Regions from separate parts of the Homo sapiens genome. Here region 1 is linked to region 2. The links are contacts of gene promoters, found by promoter capture Hi-C in human tissues and cell types (Jung and others, 2019). All regions are on one chromosome and are shown on one strand. The core of a region is centred on a gene start or on the middle of the fragment in contact, and the rest is flanking DNA. Distances in the headings are between cores, read along the strand shown.

Region 1 (5,385 bases), core at 2,623-5,122, 150 kb after region 2:
GCATTGGCCAGGAATCGAACCTGGGTCTCCTGCGTGGGAGGCGAGAATTCTACCATTGAACCACCAATGCTTTTAACTAATTTATAAAAACAAATTTAAGAAGTGTCAGGCCAAGCGCGGTGGCTCATGCCTGTAATACCAGCACTTTGGGAGGCCGAGGCAGGCAGATCATCTGAGGTCAGGAGTTTGAGACCAGCGTGACCAACATGGAGAAACCCTGTCTCCACTAAAAATACAAAATTAGCTGGGCATGGTGGCACATGCATGTAATCCCAGCTACTCGGGAGGCTGAGGTAGGAGAATCTCTTGAACTGAAGAGGCGGAGATTGCAGTGAGCCGAGATCGCGCCATTGCACTCCAGCCTGGGCAACAAGAGGGAAACTCCGTCTCAAAAAAAAAAAAAAAAAGAGGTATTAATCAAATGTCTTAAGTATTTGGCTATTAAATAGAGTTTTGACCTAATACTTTATATTTGTTTTATTGATTGAAATTGTTCATCAAGGGGTACAGTATGTTTAGGAATTAATACAGTAACTATCAACTTGAAGTGAATGTCATTTTTACTGACCATTAGTTTTGGTTATCTGTCCGAAGTTTATAAATTGGGAACTTTTGCTATTGTAAAAATCAGCTTTCAGTTTAGATGACACTTAAAAAGAAATGCATTTTCCCACTAATTCCAAAAGTAATATATACCCACAGTTAATCAAATACTGTGTGAATGGTAAATTAGAAAAGAGATGGCAATTCCCAGGGATAACCACTCTTTGGTATATTTGTTTTAGAATTTTCTAAACATTTATACTTAGTTTTTAAAGCTTTTCATTTTGAGAGAATTAGTAGTGTTTGTACAGAAATGCAACTTGTTTTATTAAGCTTAATGTATCTTAGATACCTTTTCATAATCAGTATAGTATTGTAGGGCTAAATGATAATTTACTTAAAACCCAATTATGAGCCAGGCATGGTGGCTCACACCATAAACTCAGTGCTTTGGGAAGCTGAAGCTGGAGGATTGCTTGAGGCCAGAAGTTCAAGACCAGCCTGTGCAACATAGTGAGACCCTGTTTCTACAAAAAATAAAGTTAGCCAGATGTGGTGGCGCATACCTGTGATCCCAGCTACTTGGGAGGCTAAAATGGAAGGAAGGCTTGAGCCCAGGAACTTGAAGTTACAGTGAGCTGTGATTGCACCACTGGCCACTGTACTCCAGCTTGGGTGACAGAGTGAGTCCTGTAGCTTAAGAAACCACCGAATTATGGCTATTTGGAGTGTTTCCTATTTTTTCCCTATTGGAAACAGTATTGCAGAGAAAGATGTGTGCATATATCTTTGTGTGTTTTTATAGTGTTCCTGTAGAATAAATTCCTTGAAGTGGAATTGCTTGGTCAAAGATATTAGCTATCTTTTAAAAGATTATACCAATTCTTTCTGTTACCCAGGCGGGAGTGCAGCGACAGTCTCAGCTCACTGCAACCTCTGCCTCCTGAGTTCAAGTGATTCTCTTGCCTCAGCCTCCCAAGTAGCTGGGATTACAGGTGCCTGCCACCACGCCTGGATAATTTTGTTTTTGTATTTTTAGTAGAGATGGAGCTTCACCTTGTTGCCCAGGCTGGTCTTGAACTTCTGACCTCAGGTGACCCGCCTGCCTCAGCCTCCCAAAGTGCTGGGATTACAGGCCTGAGCCACCGCACTCAGCCTATACTAGTTCTTTTTAACCAGTAGTGACCTTTTTAAAAAAAATTTTTATAATCTCACACTAGGAAAATATCTTTTAAAACATTTTTAAATTATATTTACTTAATTAATAGAGATGAGGTCACTATGTTGCCCAGGCTGGTCTCGAACTGCTGGACTAAAGTGATCCTCCTGCCTTGGCTTCCTAAAGTGCTGGGATTATAGGCGTGAGCCACCATGCCCAGCCTAATTTTATTACTTTTCTTTCTTTCTTTCTTTTTTTTTGAGACGGAGTTTCACTCTGTTGCCCAGGTTGGAGTGCAGTGGCACGATCCTGGCTCACTGCAACCTCTGCCTTCTGGGCTCAAGCAGTTCTCCTGCCTCAGCCTCCCAAGTAGCTGGGATTACAGGCGCCCACCACCACAACTGGCTAATTTTTGTATTTTTAGTAGAAATGGGGTTTCACCATGTTGGCTAGGCTGGCCTCGAACTCCTGACTTCAAGTGGTCCACCTGCTTCGGCCTCCCAAAGTTCTGGGATTACAGATGTGAGCCACTGCGCCCAGCTGGTATTTTTTTTTTCTTAAACCATTAGGGTATCAGTCATCTTTTTGCTGTATTTGTCTTTTTACATTTCTTCTGTGACGTTCCCATTGCTGTCCTATGATGCATAGGTTGTGTTCATTTTTCTTACTGGTTTATTTGTGACTAGTATTTCTTGAGCTGGTTAATGAGATGTACAGGCGTATAGTGGTGAACAAAGTAGAAATGGTCCTTGTCATTGTGGAACTCTTACAGGATATTAGGGAAGATGACATTAAGCAAATAGTTACTATTTCTTTTTTTTTTCTTTTTTGAGACAGGGTCTGGCTCTCTTGCCCAGGCTGGAGTGTGGTGGCATGACCACACCTCACTGCAGCCTCCACCCTTTGGGCTTAAGCCATCCTCCCACCTCAGCCTTCAAAGTATCTGGGACTACAGGCAGGCACCACCATGCCTGGCTAATTTTTCTATTTTTTGTAGAGATGGAGTTTCACCATGTTGCTCAGCCTGGTCTCAAACTTCTGAGCTTAAGCGACCTGCCCAGCTTGGCTTCCCAAAGTGCTGGGATTACAGGCGTGAGCCACCACACCCGGGCCAATAGTTACTATTTCCAAGTGTGCCAAGTGCTGTAAGGGAGAGCTCTTGGCGAGGTTTGAACAATATGGGGCCTAGGAAAATGGGACAAGGGAAGGCTTCCTGGGGAAATGATATCTGTAGAGACTGAGGGATGGGTGGGAGAAGGCTAGGTGGGGGTTAATGGGAGAAAATAAAGTAAGTTTCCCAAGGAGATGAAGGCTTCTGTAAAGACCACTGACAGGAGAGATCACTGAGTTTGAGGAACTGGAAGAAGGCTAGTGTGTCTGGAGTACAGTAATGAGAGCGAGAGCATAGTGTTAGATGATACTGGAGAGGTTAGCAGGAGCCAGATCTGATCTTTATCTTAAGGACAGTACAAAGCTATTGAAGAGTTTTAAAAGCAGGAGAGTGATACCGTTTTTGTTTTTCAAAAGATAAATCTCCTAGAGCACTCTGAGCATGAGATAAGTACTTTCACTTAGGAATACATAACTGTGTGATTGTCAGTGGCCTGGTTAAATATCTACCTCTTGGTAATTTTTAGTATCGCAAGAAAAAGATGATTAATTTAATAGGTGGTGCTCATAAAACTGAGACATCTGACAAAAAATAGAATTGGAACACCATTCTCATCATTTTCCAAAATCATTTCCAAATGAATTAAAAGCTTAAATATATAAAGTAAACAATAACAGTCTCAGAATAATATTTAAATGACTGTACAATCCAAGGGATGGAAAGACATTTTAAATCAAGATAAGAAACTCAGAAGCTGTAGTATCAGAAGCTCTAGTAGGGACATGTAAAACATTTTTTTTTTTTTTTTTTTGAGACAGAGTCTCACTCTGTCACCCAGGCTGGAGTGCAATGCCGTGATCTTGGCCCACTGCAACCTCCACCTCCCAGGTTCAAGCAATTCTCCCTGCCTCAGCCTCCTGAGTAGCTGGGATTACAGGCGCCCCGCCACCACACCTGGCTAATGTCTGTATTTTTGGTAGAGACGAGGTTTTGCCGTATTGGCCAGCCTGGTCTCGAACTCCCGACCTCAGGTGATCTGCCCGTCTTGGCCTCCCAAAGTGTTGGGATTACAGGTGTGAGCCACCGTGCCTGGCTATAAAAAATTTTAAAACTCTTTTTTTTTTTTTTTTTTTTTTTTTTTGGAGATGGAGTCTCGCTTTGTCACCAAGGCTGGAGTGCCGTGGTGCGATCTCGGCTCACTGCAAGCTCCACCTCCTGGGTTGACACTATTCTCCCACCTCAGCCTCCCGAGTAGCTGGGACTACAGGCGCCTACCACCATGCCTGGCTAATTTTGTTTTTGTATTTTTTAGTAGAGACGGGGTTTCACCGTGTTAGCCAGGATGGTCTCGATCTCCTGACCTTGTGATCTGCCCGCCTCGGCCACCCAAAGTGCTGGGATTCCAGGCGTGAGCCACTGCACCCGGCCGTAAAACTCGTTTTATAGCAAATAATACAATGAACAAATTGACATATATAAAAAGGAACAAACGATACATGTCATAACGTGAATTTCAAACTTTTTTTTTTTTGTGTGTGTGACGGAGTCTCGCTCTGTCGCCCAGGCTAGAGTGCAGTGGCGCGATCTCGGCTCACTGCAAGCTCTGCCTCCCAGGTTCCCCTCATTCTCCTGCCTTAGCCTCCTGAGTAGCTGGGACTACAGGCACCTGCCACCATACCCGGCTAATTTTTTGTATTTTTAGTAGAGATGGGGTTTCACTGTGTTAGCCAGGATGGTCTTGATCTCCTGACCTCGTGACCCGCCTGCCTCGGCCTCCCAAAGTGCTGGGATTACAGGCGTGAGCCACCGCGCCCGGCCTCAAACATTATTTTGAGAAAAATAAGCATGCCATATACTGCTACAGTATAATTCTGTTTTTGTGAATTTTGGGAAGAGTCAGAAGTAAGCTAGGGTGATAGAAATCAGAACAGAGGTTGACTCTTGGTCCCAGGGAGTGATAGGAAAGGGGCATGAGAGAACTTCTTGGGGTGATGGAATTGTTATGTATTTTGATTGGCAGGGTAGATACGTAGGTGTAAACATTTGTCACAACACATTGAACTGTACATTTATTTTTATTTTTAAATACTTATTTAGAAATGAGGTCTTACTCTGTTACTCAGGCTGGAGTGCATTTCTTCTGTGGTGCCATCATATCTCACTGCAGCCTCTAACTCCTGGGCTCAAGCGATCTTCCTGCCTTTGCCTCCTGAGTAGCTGTGATTACAGGCCTGTGCCACCATGCTCAGTGTATACCGTTATTAAAAAGAAAGAGCTATTTATATCTGGGTAAGAAAGAATGTTGGTATCAATGGAGACAGAGGCCTGGACAGATTAGTGAGATGTTTAGGAGATAGAATTGTTAGGACTTGGGCACTTGGACTGTAGGAGGTAAACAAGAGGGAATCAGAGTTGATAGCTCTTTGTCATGTTTTGAGATATTTTTCCCATTTTGTTTGGTATTTTTGTGGGGGGGTCTTACTTTAGACTTTTTTTCCTTTTTTTTTTTTTTTTTTTTTGAGATGGAGTCTTGCTCTGTTGCCCAGGCTGGAGTGCAATGGCACAGTCTCGG
Region 2 (5,683 bases), core at 739-3,238:
ACTTTGAAGAAACAGAAAAACTGAGAAAAATAAATGATCATGAAAAAAATGAAAAGGTAATTAAATACTGATATTAACTGCCTAAACAACACCAGCAGCAGCCCAGGCAGTCTGCAGTCAAGTTCTGCCAAACTTGAGGGAACAGATAATTCTTCTATTCCAGAGCATAGAAAATGATGGAAAGTTTCCCAATTTAATCAGAGAGGACAGCCTGATCCTTGTTATGAACACAGATAAAAATGGGGTAAACTATATGCCAAACTCAGATACCAAAACCCTAAATAAGATGCTAGCTTATTGATGTGAACAATCCAAAAGTGCATTTTAAATTAGCCCAGGGTTTTAGAGAAAGAAAATCTAGCAATGTGACCACCACTTATGTTAACAATTTTAAGACGAAAATCTACATGATCATATCAATGCATGCTACACAAAAGCATTTGGGCAAAAAACCCAACACCCACCCTTGACTTTTTAAACTCTTAGTAATTAGGCATAAACAGAAATGTACTTAATGTGATAGAATACACTCGGTGAAGATACAGAGGGAATGCTCCCTAAAACCAAGCCCAAGACAAAGATTCCTATTTAACCTCAATAGTCAACACTGCAGCGAGAGTAATCTATGGAAGACAAGGAAAAAAGTAAAAACATGAGAGACATCTGTTGTTTAACAGACAATAAGATCACCTACTTGGAAGAGGCAAACGAATCAAGCGAAAAACTATTAAAACTGAGACAGGCTTTAGTATGGAGGCTCAGCTTCAGCTGTAGTTTGGGCTACCAAATTCAACTCGCTTGCTTGGAGAGTTAATCCTGCAAAGCTAATTTCTGTTGAGGTATTAGGATTGACAAGCCTGTGCTCCTCCCTCCTCCCCCATCTTCAACACTGAAATAACACGGTGTTTGGAACTGGATAACAGAATCTTCCAAAAACAAAAATTGTCCTGAAGGGCTGACTTGTGCCCTTACTCAAAAAACACTTTATCTGCTGCCTGCAGCTCCTACAGTTGCTGGTGGATAAGCCTGCCAACCAGCTCGGCGTAATTCTTCCTGCAGAGGGCAAGGAAGAGCACTTTCACAGGAAAATTTTTTTCCGAACTGTATGCCGCTTATTACATAAACTTACGTGCTGGCAAATGGAGCTCCAGCAAAATAAGATATTCAGAGTCAAACTTCCTTAGGAAAAAAAAAAAAAAAAAGCAAGCACATAACACTAATTTCCTTGCATGGGCACTGGGGAAGGAGGTCGTTACTTCCGCACGCCCGCAGGTCCGCACCACCGGGAAACCCACGGGCACCGCGCGCTGCCCCCGGGCCTTCCAGGTGCACTGCGCCGCGGCGCCCCAGCTGACCCGGGATGCGCAGCCCTAGCCCTTCCCCTGTCACCCCGGCCAGGAAGGGGCGGGAGCGCGGCGGACGCCGAGGGCGAAGGGCTTCTCGGTCCTCTGCACCACGCAGCACCCCCAAGGCACAACAGGGAGGGTGCGGGAGGCTCCCGAGACCCAGGAGCCGGGGCCGGGCGTGCCCGCGCACCTGTCCCACTGCGGCGAGGGCTGGGGTCGCCTCCAGGGCCGCAGCTGTCGGGAGCCACCTGGCTCTCAGTCCCGGGTCCCTGCGACAACCCTCGGGCCCGGAGGGGAGGAGGCGGCCACCTGCCGCTGCCACCTGCGGCACCGGTCCCACCGCTCCGGGCCGGGCAGGACAGGCCAGGACGTCCCTCCTGGGCTGGGGACAGGACACGCGACGAGGGGACCGGGGCCCCCGCGGCGAAGACGCAGCACGCCTTCCCAGAAAGGCAGTCCCGTGCCCCCACGACGGACTGCCGGACCCCCGCGCTCGCCCGCCCATCCCTTCAGACCACGCGGCTGAGGCGCAAAGAGCCGGCCGGCGGGCGGGCTGGCGGCGCGGCTAGTACTCACCGGCCCCGCTGGCTCAGCGCCGCCGCAACCCCCAGCGGCCACGGCTCCGGGCGCTCACTGATGCTCAGGAGAGGGACCCGCGCTCCGCCGGCGCCTCCAGCCATCGCCGCCAGGGGGCGAGCGCGAGCCGCGCGGGGCTCGCTGGGAGATGTAGTACCCGGACCGCCGCCTGCGCCGTCCTCCTTCAGCCGGCGGCCGGGGGCCCCCTCTCTCCCAGCTCTCAGTGTCTCATCTCCCTATCTGCTCATCCTCTGGTCGCACATAATCGATGTTTGGGCGTCCCAAGCCAGATGTGGACCCCATTTCCGCACTCTACACTGGAGGTTTTCTAAGGGTGGTGCCCGGACCAGCAGCTTCAGCCTCATCTGGGAACTTGAGAAAATGCAGATTCTCCGTCCCACCCAGCCTATTCGGTTTTTCCTGCACTAAAACCATGAAGGTGGGGCCCAGCAGTCCACATTCTCGCAAGCCCGTCAAGTGATTCTGAGGCGCCCTCCAGTTTGAGAGCTATGCTCACGGCCTCACCTCCGCCCCGCAAGGAGCCCGGTCTTGCCTGTGGCGCTAGCCGCACACGGACACCTCATCCTGCGGGGCCCGCCCCCCCGCTGCACCCTCACCGCCCAACGCCTCCTCCGGGATGCAGCGGAGGCGCCTGGAAGTCGGCAAGGTCAACATCCCCCTCAGCATCTTCCCTACCCTCACGGCTCCTCCTCCAGGGGTGCCTCATGGCCAGGGGTTAGAAAGAGCCACTGTGTTTCTTGACATGGAAGTGGCCTAAGACCTTAATGAAAACTGCAGGAGTGGAATGACAGAACCTTTGGTCATACTTGAGGGCGTGAAGCTCAAATGAGGAGGAAGGAAAGGATCCAGGGAGAATAACCAACCCTGGCAAGTTGTGGCGCCCAGGTAGAGGGGCGAGCCTAGGCTAGCGGTTCTCGACCAGGGCCGGTGTTGCCCCTCCTCGCCGCCCCGCGTACATTTGGGGAGGTCTGGAGACATTTTTGGTTGTCATGATGCGGGAGTTGCTACTGTTGCCTAAGTGGGTAGACACGAGGGTGCTCCTCAACATCCTACCTGAAGGACAGGACTGCCCCACAAGGAAGAATGATCCGGCCCCAAATAAGAAACCCTGGGCTGGTCAGCAACAACCCCTTTGTTCTGAGAAGAGAGGAGGAAAGAATAAAAGAAGTGGGGTGAAGTTTTGGTTTGGTAGAGGAAACTTGAAGACATTTTCACTGGAAAGGAAGAGAGGAAGAGGAGGGAGATGTCTGTAAGGACGAGCAAACCGGGTGACAGCTGATTTCCTCATATTGAAGTAATGAGTCCTAGTTATAATAAATTCCTAATAAAAACCCAGTTTATCCCTGCAATAAACTTGTCTTTTTTTTTTAAATATACTGCTTGATTCTGTTTGCTAATATTTTATTTACAGGCTTTGCATTGATATGCAAAAATGAGATGGGCAATAATTTTCTTTTTGAATGTCTAATGTTGTTTGGTTTCAGAATCAATGTTATGCTCACATCATAAAAAATTTGGAACCGAGGCAGGAGGAGTGCTTGAGGCCAGAAGTTCGAGACCAGTCTAGGAAACACAGTGAGACCCCCCCATCTCTACAAAAAAAAAAAAAGAAAAAAAAATGGGCATGTTTGCTTTTTCCTTTTACTCTGAACAATTTAAGGAGCATTAAAATTATCTATTCTTTGAGGTTTGATCATTTCCCAGTTAAAAATGTTCCTCCCAGCCTGATGCTTTCTTTGGGGAGGGTAAATCTTTTAAGGCTAGAAAAGTTTCTTCTGTGGCAATTTTATTATTTACATTTTAAAAATTATTCTAGAGTTAATTTTGATAAAGCATGTATTTCTTAAAACAAATTATCCTTTTTTTCCAGATGTTCAAGTGTATTTGCATAAAGTTGAGGAAAGTAGTCTTTTGTGAATCTTTTAACTTCTCCCAAATATCTTATTTTGTGTATTTTTGCTTCTTTATTTTGTTAACTTTTAAAAGTGTATTTTTTTTTCAAAGAATCAGCTCTTAGGTTTATGTTTTTGGTTATACTGGAGCTTTTTTCTTCTTCTTTTTAAAATATTTTTTCTCCTTTATTTTTTAGACGTATTTTGATCTAACGTAATCGGAAGAAGGTAAATTAGAATCTTTTGTTACTATTGTGTTTTTATTTCTCCTTATTTCTCTGAAGTCCTGCTTTATAAATAGTACCATGTTATTTGTGCATAAATATTCATTTGTCTTATATTCTTGGGAATTTTCCCACTTCATCATAAAATGACCTTCCTTGTCTCATTTAATGTGTTCAAACTTTGCCCTGAATTTAACTTTGTCTGATATTTTACCATCCTGCTGAATTTTGTTTGTTACCCCAAACAACCTTTGCTGTTTTCGTCTTTTCTGAACCCTTTATTTTAGGTAATCCCTTGAATTAGAGCACTAAGTTTTGCTTTGTGATTAAATCTGAAAATCTTTATCTTGCCATAGATGAGTTGAGCCCTATTCATGTGACAGCTATATTATGCTGTTTCATAGCCCTTTTGGTCCTTTTTTCACTCTTGCATTGCATATTTTGTGTTTATTGTGTTTTGTGTTTCTTCTGATAATTTGGAAGGTTTGTATTTTTATTCAGGGAGTTGCCTTATAATCATACTCCGCAATACACATCGTCCTCAGTTTCTTCAGACTGTCTGTTAACTCCCTATTCTGAATAAAAATGACATTGTAATTTCCCTCTTTTTTCTTTACCCCTTTTCTTCTCCTCACCTAATGTAAATGATTTTATCCTTCTTTAGTATTTGCTTTTTTAATTAACTACATTTATAAATATCTTTATCACTTGATTTTTAAATCAGCTTTGAATGAGATATTTGGATTCCTAGATATAAAAGATGTTAATTATACCATTTCCACGTTAGTAGGTTTATAAAATCATACATTCTGCTGTGTAACCATAATCCCACGTTTGTTTTAGTTCCACTCCTACAGTTAAAAGATTCAGAAGTATTATTAACAGTTATTTTGCCATAGTTTTTTCCCCAACCCATTTTGTGGTAAGTTATGATCCTGCTTTAGTTTCTTAAGAATAATTTATAGAGCAGAGTGTGGTGGCTCACGTTTGTAATCCCAGCACTTTGGGAGACAAGAGGTAGAAGGATCGCTTGAAGCCAGCAGTTCAAGACCACCCTGAGCAACATAGTGAGACCTTGTCTCTACAAAAAATTTTAAAATTTAGCCAGACGTAGTGGCGTGTGCCTATAGTCCCAGCTACTCAGGAGGCTGAGGCAAGAGGATTGCTAGAGCCCAGAAGTTTGAGGCTGCAGTGACCTCTGATTGTGCCACTGCACCCCAGTCTGGGCAAGAAAGTGAGAACCTATCTCTTTAAAATAACAATAATAACTTATGAAAATTATATTCCCTGAGTTTTTCATGTTTAAAAATATTTGTTGCCTTTATCCTGTAAAAGTTTGAGTATAAATTCTTGGGTTATACTTTATTTATTGAAGAATGTATAAGTATTGTCTTCTAGAATTGAGTGTTGCTGTAATGAAACCAGAAGTCAGCCTGGTTTATTTTTCCTCAGAAATGAGGTAATTGCCGGCCGGACACCGTGGCTCATGCCTGTAATCCCAACACTTTGGGAGGCCGAGACAGGTGGATCACGAGGTCAGGAGATTGAGACCATCCTGGCTAACATGGTGAAACCCCGGCTCTACTAAAAGTACAAAAAGTTAGCTGGGCATGGTGGTGGACGC

Evidence for each region. Contacts are between HindIII fragments. The study calls those that stand out against the background at their distance.
Region 1: a contact is called between a fragment that was not itself captured here and the fragment with the promoter of SPECC1 in region 2, in 2 of the 25 tissues and cell types used here (mesendoderm cells and pancreas).

Annotation. Positions count from the first base shown.
Region 1 is chr17:19,855,547-19,860,931 of GRCh38, reverse strand. All of the region lies in intron 3 of ULK2 (unc-51 like autophagy activating kinase 2), which reads left to right. TRG-CCC3-1 (tRNA-Gly (anticodon CCC) 3-1) reads right to left here and starts at 70; the gene lies at 1-70. The HindIII fragment of the contact is 7,474 bases long and covers 136-5,385 here.
Region 2 is chr17:20,005,664-20,011,346 of GRCh38, reverse strand. SPECC1 (sperm antigen with calponin homology and coiled-coil domains 1) reads right to left here and starts at 1,988. Exons shown (of 15, transcript NM_001243439.2): 1 at 1,923-1,988. It overlaps SPECC1-DT (SPECC1 divergent transcript), which reads left to right and starts at 2,087. Exons shown (of 1, transcript NR_186461.1): 1 at 2,087-3,292. RefSeq lists silencers at 1,317-1,496, 1,517-2,186 and an enhancer at 2,619-3,186. The HindIII fragment of the contact is 29,689 bases long and covers 1-5,683 here.